Regions from separate parts of the Homo sapiens genome. Here all the other regions are linked to region 1. Evidence: promoter capture Hi-C in human tissues and cell types (Jung and others, 2019). All regions are on one chromosome and are shown on one strand. The core of a region is centred on a gene start or on the middle of the fragment in contact, and the rest is flanking DNA. Distances in the headings are between cores, read along the strand shown.

The links. Contacts are between HindIII fragments. The study calls those that stand out against the background at their distance.
Region 2: a fragment that was not itself captured here is called in contact with the fragment with the promoter of LINC00955 in region 1 in 5 of the 25 tissues and cell types used here (H1 embryonic stem cells, bladder, lymphoblastoid cells and 2 more).
Region 3: a fragment that was not itself captured here is called in contact with the fragment with the promoter of LINC00955 in region 1 in 4 of the 25 tissues and cell types used here (H1 embryonic stem cells, aorta, mesendoderm cells and 1 more).

Annotation. Positions count from the first base shown.
Region 1 is chr4:3,575,137-3,578,939 of GRCh38, forward strand. It overlaps LINC00955 (long intergenic non-protein coding RNA 955), which reads left to right and starts at 1,733. Exons shown (of 3, transcript NR_040045.1): 1 at 1,733-1,987. The HindIII fragment of the contact is 13,427 bases long and covers 1-3,803 here.
Region 2 is chr4:3,662,616-3,666,529 of GRCh38, forward strand. No RefSeq gene overlaps it. Among named protein-coding and RNA genes, the nearest start is that of LINC02171, 13 kb to the right of the region's middle. The HindIII fragment of the contact is 5,149 bases long and covers 1-3,866 here.
Region 3 is chr4:3,682,763-3,686,223 of GRCh38, forward strand. No RefSeq gene overlaps it. Among named protein-coding and RNA genes, the nearest start is that of LINC02171, 6.6 kb to the left of the region's middle. RefSeq lists enhancers at 874-1,433, 1,434-1,991. The HindIII fragment of the contact is 8,511 bases long and covers 1-3,461 here.

The sequences.
Region 1 (3,803 bases), core at 483-2,982:
TCTTCCAGTGCCCTGTGCTTTGAAAAATACGCAGAAAAGCCAGAATTATGGAGGGCAGCCTCCTGGGCTTGTGGGTGTTGGGCAGGTGGAGGGAGACGTATGGAATCTTCTGGTCTCCAGGCAGCTGTGCAGTGCACCGGTCGGTGGGATCAGTCAAGGAGGTTCAGAGCAGGATGGAGGAACCGCTCCAGGGATTTCCAGCAGAGAGGGGTTTGTTGCAGGGAAGGAGATGGATCCTGGGACCCTGGAGTTCGCACCCCTGCTCTGTCTGCTGCAGTGCTCCGGGGGTACACAGCCCAGCCCAGGGTCGCCCCGGTCATGTGCCCCCAGCACCAGCCCCTGGGCCTTTTATATGTTTCTGGGATGCTGCCTGTCTTCCAGTGCCATCAGGAAAGGCTCGGGGAGCTGGGCCTCACTGGACGCCATACCCCTCCCGCTGGAACAGTGCGTAGGTGTTCCGCCCTCCAGGGCAGACTGACCGCAGGATGAACGCCCCCGCCCCACAGGTGCCCAGCGCTTCACAGCTCACAGAGCCCTTCGACCTCCCTGGCCTGGGATGACCCTCTCAACACCCCCAGGAGGAGACACCGGTGCTGCCTTCAGCAGGGAAACCTGGGCTTGGATAGGTGCAGCGGCTCCTCCAAGGTGGCCAAGCTGCCTGGCCCTCGCTCATGAATTCTGAGTAGCCCCTCCTGTCACTGCCACCCACTGCTCTCCCCGGAGGCCTGTGTGTCCTTTGTTCTCTCCTGAGGATGGCTGTGGCCTCCTCCTGTTCCTGACAGGGCCCGGTGCCCACTGGCTCATGTCAGAGTTCAGGCCTGAGGGGAGGGGTGTTTGTGCTAACAGGAGGCAGAGGGCAGCCTGCCAGTCTGGCCCTGTGGCCACCTGAGCTGTCCCCTGGGACCCGTGGCTTCATGACTCTGACCCAGTGGATGCTGTCTTCATAGTCTGAGTGGGAGCCAGGTTTGACCTTGGAGTGCCTGGGGCATAGAGTCCCTGTCCTCTGGAGGAAGAGATGGTCATCCCTTTTCATGCTGACTGGCCCCAGGGCAGGACCTGCTCTTTTGGACCCTAAAAGGGACAAGGCCTGGTGGCAGAGCAGAGCTGGGGCTCAGGAGAGGGAGACGGGTGGGAGGAAGGGAGGAAGAGGAAGAGAAGGAGGAAAGGGGGAGATGAGGAAGGGGGAGGAAGAGGAGGAGGAGGAGAAGGAAGAGGAGGAGGAGGAGATGACTCAGGCACCCACGGCATTACTGTGGCAGGCTGGCCCTCGGTTTCCCCAGCAGTAAATGAAGAGATGGGGTCAAGGGGCCCAGGCCCCCTTCCAGATCTGAGACCTGCGCATCAGGCTGTCTGTATTCAGAGGAAGCCGGGGATGGCAGCTCCCAGCCGTGGGCTCGGCCTTCATTCACTGTACAGGCTCATCCATTCACCCAGTGAACCCTCCCGAGTCCCTTCATGAGGGCGGCCTCGCAGGGACTTTGGTCTCGGCTCTGCCCTGTCCTGGCCTTGGGACCCTGGGTGAGCTGAGGCAACCCAGTTTCCTGGTCTGTGACTCCAGGCTCTGTCCTCGCCCCATCGCCCCCCATCGTGGCACAGGTTCGAGGGTGTTGGCTTGCCTGGCCTCCTGAGGGCCTTCTGGGGTTAAAGTCTTCTATCCTGAGGCTGAGACCAGGGCTGGGGAGGAGGTTCAGCCCCTGTGGACTTTATCCTCCCTCTCCACGGCTGAGTCTTGATTTACAGCTGGAAGGGCAGACGGAGGCATCTTGGTGTATACACAGCCCTGCTGGGCCACATCCCGGGTCTCCTCCCTCTGCGATGCCATAGCAGGGGCGCCTTCCGAAAGCCCTCTGGATTGAGGCAGCAGGATCTATGGTGGAACCTGCCCCGGCGTCGCCAACGCCCCTAGGACCCCAGCACACTGACTGGGGAGCATCCCTGTGTCGTTTCTGCCCGGAGAGGAGCAGAGGCCAGGCTGCTGCTCTGGGAGGTGAGTGTCATGCCTGGGAACACAGCGGGGACCCCAGGGAGGGAGAGCAGGTGTTTGCTCCCTGGGCTCTGCCTGGTGGTCCTGACAGCAGTCCTGACTGTTGCGAAGGCTGTTTTTTGGTGGCTTCCTTAGGGTCCTCGCTGTGCTCTCGGTCCCAGCACTGTCTGCTCTCCTTCCTGGTTATTTGAATGACCCGGCTCCTGTTGCTGTATCCCGGGTCCTGACCTCCCCTGAGATGGACTCTGTTCAGGCTAGACTGCCTCAAGGGACCCGCTTCAGTCTATTTGTGGCAGAAAAGGTTAGCTGGCTCCTGGGAAATGTCAGGGGATAAGTCAAAGCTGGCCAGCGGCAAGGCCCAGTGACGCCCTGTCATTTTATGACTCCCTTTTCTTAATCAGTCGAGGAGAAAAACAAGCAATGAAGGATTTTCCATGGCAACCACCAGCAGGGCAGTGTTCTCTCCCTACCTGAGCTTGTTTTAAGAAGAGGGGTCTGGCCAGAGGCTGCTGACCCTGGCCCCAGAGGGCAGGGGTCGAGTGTCCTGGAGTGTGACTCCCAGGCACCTGGGCTTGGGCTGGGCCCCTGGAGCAGGCGCAGCTAATCTGGCCAATCTACTCCTTCACACTCATGGAGCAAATGGGGAAACAACCCAGAGAGGGGCAGCCCAAGGAAGCAAATTTGTAGAGCCTGACACTCTGAGAGAGCTCTCAGAAGGATACTAGTCTTCTAAACCAGAAACTTATTCATATAATAATAATAATGTTTATAATAATAACATTATTAATTCCTTCACCATCCACCCACTTACTCACCCTCTTACCCATCTGTCCATTCAACTCATCCACCCCCACATCCAGCCAGCTTCCATCCTATCATACATTCATCCACCTACCCGTCCACCCTTTCATCCTTCCTTTCTTTCATCACCCACCCATCCTCTCACTCATTCATTCATCCATCCACCCATCCATCCATCTACCCATTCATCCACCCATTCATTTATTCACTCTCCCATCCACCCATCCATTCACCCTTTCTTTCTTTCATCATCCATCTATCCACCCATCCATCCATTCATCCACATATTCGTCCACCCATTCATTATTCACTTATCTATCCATCCTTCCAACCATCCATCCATTCATCCACCTATTCTATTCACCCACCCATCCTTTCATGCTTTCTTTCTTTCATCATCCATCCATCCATCCATCCATCCATCCATCCATCCATCCGTCCATCCATCCATCCACCTATTCCATTCACCCACCTATCCATTCATTCACTCACTCATCCATCCATCCACCCATCCGTCCTCCCTTTCTTTCATCACCCACCCATCCATTCACTCACCCATCATCCATCCACCCAGCTAGCCAGCTTCCATGTCTATATCCAACTACTCACTCATCCATTCACCCATCAACCTAACTAAACTTGTTTTCTCCCATGTAACACAATACTTATCCACCCATCCATCCGTCAACCTACCCAACCACCCCATAACACGCCCACATCCTTCCCTTTGCCCATCTGTACACATACTTATCTACCTCTCCTATACCCATATACCCATGACATCCACTCACCCATTCATGCATGATCCTCCTACACATTCACTCACTTACCCATTGACTGCTTCACCTACTTATCCACTACTCCCCATTCACCCATACCCTCATAAAACTTCTATCCATCCATTCTATCCACCTACTCAAACAACCACCTATCAACCCATCTACCCATCAGACTGTGGTCCACCCACCTATCCATCCACCCATCTACCCATCTACCCAAAGACCCATCATCCATCCTC
Region 2 (3,914 bases), core at 42-2,541, 87 kb after region 1:
CCCTGCACTGCGTCCCGGGTGAGGAGGCCCCTTTCACAGCAGAAGAGGTGGGTGGGGTCGCCCAGCTTTGGAAGCTGCGTGACTTAGTGGGAGAACCCCGGCCTTCTTCCAGGCTGCAGGGGCAGAGCCGGTCCCACCTGCTCCGGCGCCCCGTGGCTGCTGTCTTCTTCCTTTCGAAACACCCTGGAGGTCATCCTGGGAGACATGAGGCACCGAAGTCAGTGATCCTAACATCGGAGTTGTGTGGAGATGGGACCACCCTGGAAAATCCTTTACGACGCTGTTGTGATGCCACCACTTGGGCCCGAGAACCAATGTCTCCTTTTCATTCACCTTTGGCCTGGGGCTGCCCCTCTCGTCACATAGGAGACAGTGGTGTGTCCTACAGTGGTGTGTGTACAGTGTGTGTGTGAGAGTGCAGTGTGTGTGTGAGTGCAGTGTGTGTGAGTGCAGTGTGTGTGAGCGTGTAGTGTGTGACTGCAGTGTGTGAGAGTGTAGTGTGTGTGAGAATGTAGTGTGTGTGAGAGTGCAGTGCGTGTGAGTGCAGTGTGTGTGAGCGTGTAGTGTGTGAGTGTAGTGTGTGTGAGAATGTAGTGTGTGTGAGTGTAGTGTGTGTGTGAGTGTAGTGTGTGTGAATGCAGTGTGTGTGTGTAGTGTGTGAGAGAATGTAGTGTGTGTGAGTGCAGTGTGTGTGAGCGTGTAGTGTGTGAGTGTAGTGTGTGTGAGAATGTAGTGTGTGTGAGTGTAGTGTGTGTGTGAGTGTAGTGTGTGTGTGTAGTGTGTGAGAGAATGTAGTGTGTGTGAGTGTAGTGTGTGAAAGTGTAGAGTGTGTGAGAATGTAGTGTGTGTGAGAGTGTAGTGTGTGAGAGTGCAGTGTGTGTGAGTGCAGTGTGTGTGAGAGTGCAGTGTGTGTGAGTGTAGTGTGTGTGAGAGTGCACCCATGTGTGTGAGTGCCTTTGTTTCACCTCATATTCTTCCTTGCCATCCTCTGGAGAGGCGGCAGAGGGTGCATGGCCAACAGTGTGTGCCAACCCATGGGCGACCTCGGAAAAGGTGAGGTTGCAATGGAGACTGTAGAACAGCAACTCAAACAGGAGGGGAGAGGACAGGCCGGGGGGAAGCCAGGGACAGCCCTTCCAGGCAGAGCCTGCGTCCCTGGTGACAAGGGGAGCTTTTCAAACAGAACCACAGCAGCAACAACAGACAGCCCGGGGCCCATCCACCAAGGTCCAGAGCACGCTCAGGACGGCCACTGGGGAGAAGATGGGCAACGGTGATGAGGTGGAGTGAGGAGGAAGTGCCTGCCACCTGAATAATGGCCACCTGCAAGCCTGTCCTTAGTGGCACCTACTTGCATGGCCCCAGCTGATAACCTGCAGCTGGGCTGTGAGTGAAATTGCTCAACCCAGGCATGCAGAGAGCAGAGCCTCAGGGAGCTCAGAGCCAAAGCTGTGTCCCTGGCCAGCTTCACAGGCTGTGCCCCCAGCAGACACACAGAACCCCTCTCAGGAGGGCCCCGGGCTCAGGAGGACTCACTGATCAGGAGGACCCTGGGCTCGGGAGGACCCTGTGCTCAGGAGGACTCAGTGCTCAGGAGGACCCCGTGCTCAGGAGGACCTCATGCTCAGGAGGACCCAGTGCTCAGAAGGACCTGGTGCTCAGGGAGACTCAGTGCCCAGGAGGACCCCGTGCTCAGGAGGACTTGGTGCCCAGGAGACCTTGGTGCTCAGGAGGACTCCATGCTTAGGAGGACCCGTGCTTAGGGAGACTGTGCTCAGGAGGACTCGTTGCTCAGAAGGACTCAGCGCTCAGGAGGACTTGGTGCTCAGGAGGACCCTGTGCTCAGGTCTCAGTGCTCAAGGGGACTCGGTGCTTGGTTTAATTCTCTCTTGTTGCCATCCTGAAATTGTTAATAATTTTCGGTGAGGACCATGCATTTGCATTTTTTTTCTGGGTCCTACAGTGGTGTGGTCTGATTTGTGTCTTCTGCATTCACAGCTGAATATAGGCCCAGGGGCTTTCTGAACTGGACTCAGTGACAAGGGCCTGACTCCCGGGCACGTGGTACTATTCTTACCACAGATGTCCGTGCTCAGAGCTGGGACATGGTCACTCCTGGGTAAGACACATTAGGTCCTTAACTAGGAGACACTCACTGGGGATTTTCTCGTGGTTCTGCTGTGCAAGTTGGAGGCAGTTGGGAGGTTGCCGAGGTGCAGCCCAGGCCCTGGCTCAGGGAGATGCTGTACAAGAGCAGCCCCTCTCCAGACAGACAGCCCTGGGCACTGCCAGGCCAGGCCCGCCTCATTGACATGCTAGGGCCTCACTGGCTTGCTGCATGCCCTGTGCCCAGGGATCCAATTTCAATATCATTACTGAGAAGTCCAACCTTCCTGTGAGCATGAGTTATTACTCAGGAATAACAGCCCAAGTGAAGAAAAATGACAAAATCTGCTGTCTGCCAAATGCGTCTGCTCGAAAGATAGAGGAGGAAAAACAGCTACCAAGGCTGGGCTTCATGTGGACTGGCTTTGAGAGCAGATGAAACCCGCTCTGCAAACCACCAGCGGGCTCAGCTACCCAGTACATTTAGAACAAGAAAGAAAAAAAATCCATGGTTAATTTTAACAGCATTGCTGTTAGGGGCAGGGCTGAGTCTGTGGAGGAACTTATAGGTCCAGACAATCTTAGGTCTCCAGACTCCCAGGCAGACAGTTTGTGTGCTCATCCATCTGTTCCCCACATATACATCTATCCGTCCATCCATTCATGACTATCTATTCACCATGTACCTATGCATTAATCCATCCATCCCATTCATCCATCCACCCAACCACCCATCCATACACCCACCCATCCACCCCTCTATCCATTCATCCATTCATCCACCCACCCACCTATCCATTCACCCACCCATCCAGTCATCCACCCATCCATCCACCCCTCCAGTCATCCATCCATCCATCCACCCATCCATTCACCCACCCATCCACCCCTCTATCCATTCATCCATCCATCCATCCATCCACCCACCCATCCATTCACCCACCCATCCACTCATCCATCCATTCATCCATGCATCCATCCACTCCTTGATCCACCCATCCATCCATCCATGCATCCTTTTACCCACTCAATCCCTTCCTTCCTTCTTTCCTTCCCTCACCACCCATCTATCCATGGGCCATTTCCTATGTGCACATTTCCAAATGCACAGCCTGCAGCCTGTGCTGGGCATTTGGCACACAGAGATGGGACAGATCCCATGCTGGCTCCCAGGAGCTTGCCGCATCGTGAGAGGGACTGAGAGTGATTTCCGATAGGGCAGGGCAGCCCTGGAGCTGCAGGAGCACAGAGGAGGTACCCATCTAGCGGTGAAGTCTTCTTGGGAGGGCGGGGCCTAAGCTGAGTCCTGCTGGAATTGCTGGTGAGTCTCAGAAATGGAGGAAGTGGAGGTCCAGGGCAGTGTGGTCTTGTCAACAGAGAAAACTGGAAAATCCCAGGAGCAGAGGTGCAGAGGCCTGCCCCGGGTAGATGAGTGCAGGGAGCCCTGAGCAGCCTCTGTTTCTCGAGCAGACAACAACTTGGCCACTAGGAAGGGGCATGGGGACTTCCTCCCATCAGGGTTTAAACCTCTGAAGGGTTTAAACACAGAGTAGCCAGAGAGCGGTTTTAGAAGATCACACCAGGGATCTGTTAATACAGGACAAGTGTTGGCAGATCTTTTCTATAAAGAACCAGAAAATCAATATTTTTGGTTTTGTGACCCATCTTATGTGTTTTGTGAGTCTATTGAAACTACTCACTTCTGCTTTTGTAGTAAAAGCAGCCATGGAGGATTCATGAATGACTGGGTGTGGCTGTGTCCCAATAAAACTTTATTTAGAAAAACAGGCCATGGGCTGGATTTGGCC
Region 3 (3,461 bases), core at 328-2,827, 110 kb after region 1:
AATGGGCCTGCAAAGACGCTGAGGCTGTGTGTGTCCTGGGTGAGCCCTGGTTTTAGGGCCTCCCAAAGCACACCCAGGAGGGGATTACAGGATGAGGTGGGTGGGATCATAACAGGGGGAATATTTTGTTACTGGAAATGACTTTGGTGCAGAAGACCGGTTCCCGGGAGCACAGGGAGTGGAAGCTGGACTCTGGAGCTGGGAGGTTGGGTTTGAATCTGCTCTACTGAGCAGTCACCCGGGAAGTGACCAGATGATGGGACTTCCGTGCCTGAGTTTCCTCAGCTGCAAAGTGAGAACCAACCTCAGAGGATGATGCTGAGGATCTGTGAAGGGAGAGGGTTCCTGAGGCCACAGGTGCATGTCCTGGGCAGGATGCCCGACCCGCGTATGTACTCTGCTCACGTTGTGATTCTCCCCCAGCACCTCCGAACCCCAGCCAGCTGCAGGATTATTCCAGAAGGCCCAACCCTTGTCCTGCTGCAGTTCGGAGCCTCCTGAGAAGAACAGACACCCAGACACTGAAGGAGAAAGTGTGACGTTGGGACAGGGCCGGAGGGGATATCGGGGGGGGCTTTTGGTGGGGGTGTGGCTGGACTCGGGGTGCAGAACACTGTGGTCCTGTGACTTCCCACTTCCCTGCTCCCCTTGCTGCAAACTCCGTTCCTTTTGTAAACAGGCCCCACAGCCCCACCTCCCATTCTCCTTGGGACCCCCAGTCAGGTCCCCTCCCCGCAGCTCTGCTGGACGGTGAAGGCCGCGGGCCCCACGCTGGGCCTGGAGGTTGGCTGGTGGCCCTCCCAGCTGCGGAGGTGGGGTCGCCCTTTTCCTCAGTCTGTCTGTAGGTTTCCACGTGCCCCTGATCTTCGTGTTGGCCGCGCCTGTGCTTCTCATCCTCTCTCCACTGCCCTCGCTCCTCCATCTCCTCGCCGCCCCACCTCCTCCACCCGCCCCGATCACCGTTCACCCCAACAGCCCCAGCGGCGCCTCGAGCTCCAGATGCACCATCCGCCTACACGCCTGACACCCTGCTTGGACACCGAGGAAGCGTGTTGAACTTGATGTTTGGGGCCCAGCCGCTCCTCCCCGAGACCCACTCATGCCCCTTTCCTTGCTGTTGTGAGATGGGATGGTGTTGCGCCCTCAGATGCTTGTCCTCAAACCTCTCACAGCATCAGGATCATTCGGGGTTTCCCTGTCACCCACGGTTTCGGCAGCTCAGTCCCCCGCCTGTGTTCTCCAGGTCCTGGTGCCGTGCGTGGACCCCAGCTGTGCACCTCCCCCACAGCTATCGCTGCCTCTGTGGGGAACGTGCTTCACCTGCCCGCTGGAGGGCCAGAGGCACCCCTGCTCCGGGCCAGTGGCGGAAGGGGCAGGAGTGTCAACGCCCTGGCTGCTGCCATCAGTGGGGACACTCCGATGTCCAACTTGCACTGCCCCAGAGTTCCCCTGGGGACTGGCTGGCATCCCCGCTCCTGGAGCTCCTTCCCTTCCCAGTCCGGCTCGTGTTCCCCAGGGGATTGAAGCCACACAGGTCCTCACCCCAGGCTAGCCTCACTGCAGGCAGACACCCACTTCGGGGGCTCACTGCATCCCAGGCTCCCCCTACCCTCCATCCCACCACGGCTAGGTGGTCAGGCGGCCCGTCTCCATTTCTGCGGATCTGAGACCTCCAGGGCCTGTCTGTGCTGGTCGTTTTCTTTGTCCCGTGTTACTGAGTATGGGAATGCTGGCGGGCACCCTGAGACTTATAGCATCCTCCTGGCCCCCGTGTCTCTGAGGATTTGCTTAGCACCCAGGGCAAGCCCTTTCCTGTCTGCTGGCTGGAAGGTAAAGCCCACCAGAGGCCTGACAGCAATCTCAGTTCCTAACCTGCAGGGACCACAGCTGTTTCCTAAGACAGCACTCCTCCCACCAACACCGGACCCTCCAGGTCGTCCGGCCCAGAGCCACGGAGGGCGGCTGAGCACTGTTTAATGGGTTATTTGAGTAACAGTTCGGGGGCTGCTCTCACCTCCTGCCTGTGGCTCCCAATGGAGTGTACTGGAAATGGGGGAAATGGCGCCAGGCATTAGTCATTCACTTAAAGCCTGTGCCCCATCCCCCTGTAGAATCCAGCTCCAGAGCTGGTCTCCTGCAGGCCCTTCTATTCCTCCATCAGGCCAGCTGTGCCCAGGAACGGCGTGTAAGTTAGGCCCACGAAACCCAGGGACAAAAGCCCAGAGCTACACTTTCTTTCAGAGAAAATTGAGTTTCTTGGTCAGAAATAATGTTGGACGAGATACCTCGGGAGTGAATAGGTGTTTGCAGGACCACAGACGACGATGCTGACAATTGAATGGGATTTGGGAAAGGCAATTCACATCCCAAACACGTATCTCCTTCCACGAGGGCATTTATGGCTGAGGACAAGCATCCAGCCTCTCTGTGCAGGTGTGGAGTGACAGCCCCAGCTTCCTCGCAGCCTTTCCACCGGCCCCTCCATCACGAGAAGGGGCTACCAGAATCCACCTACCAATAGGGCAGCCTGGGACAGTGCCTCGTGGGAGGTCAGCATTGGCCTGGGCTGTCAACAGGCTGGACATACAAGAATGAGGGCAGCTAGGGCGGCCTTCGTGAGGGGGTGTCCGTGCTGTTGGCCCCCCACTACTGCACTGACCCTTCATACATGACCATTCAGACACATGCCCTCATATGCACTAAGGCAGCTGGAGAGTGAGGCTGGAAGATATCCACATGAGAAGGCATCTCGTCCAGCTCATCACCGAGACCCCCACTCCCGGGGGTCCAGCCACACACCTCTTCCCACACTTCCCTTGTCAGCAGCCTTGAAACTCGCTCTTTTCAAGTTCTGAACAGTCATTACAGTCACATGTCCATGGGTTCATGTGACCTGGATCCCGGGACATCTTTCTTCCCTAAGAGACAACGGGCGCCCTAACCTTAGGGGGAAAGACTTGAGAAGATTGCAATGAAGCTGAAGTTGTCACTTTGCACCCTGCACAGGGAGACCCCAGGTCTCATCCTCAGCCACCAGTGCCCTCTGGATTTTACCTGCTGGTATTTTGATCTGAGGCACTGAAAGTCAAAACAGATAAAAAAGATCAGAGCAGAGATCAGTGGCGTTAACAGTAGGTTTAATTAATGGCGGAATTGATACATGGATCTATGAGCTTTACCCTACCACCCACCCCCCCCACACACGTGTGCACACATATGCACACACACACATGCACACACACTCATGCACACACATACACATACGTGCACACACACAGGCACGCACACAGGCACAGGTGTGCACACACACTCTCCAACAGAAACAAACCTCCAGCCCATTTGAACAAGAAAAAATGAATTCTAAACCAGCAAACAGAAAGGGAACACAAAAATAGACCTGAAGAGGTTCTAAGTAACTAATCTACGCATTCTGATAAAAATGATATTTTCTTGGAAAATAT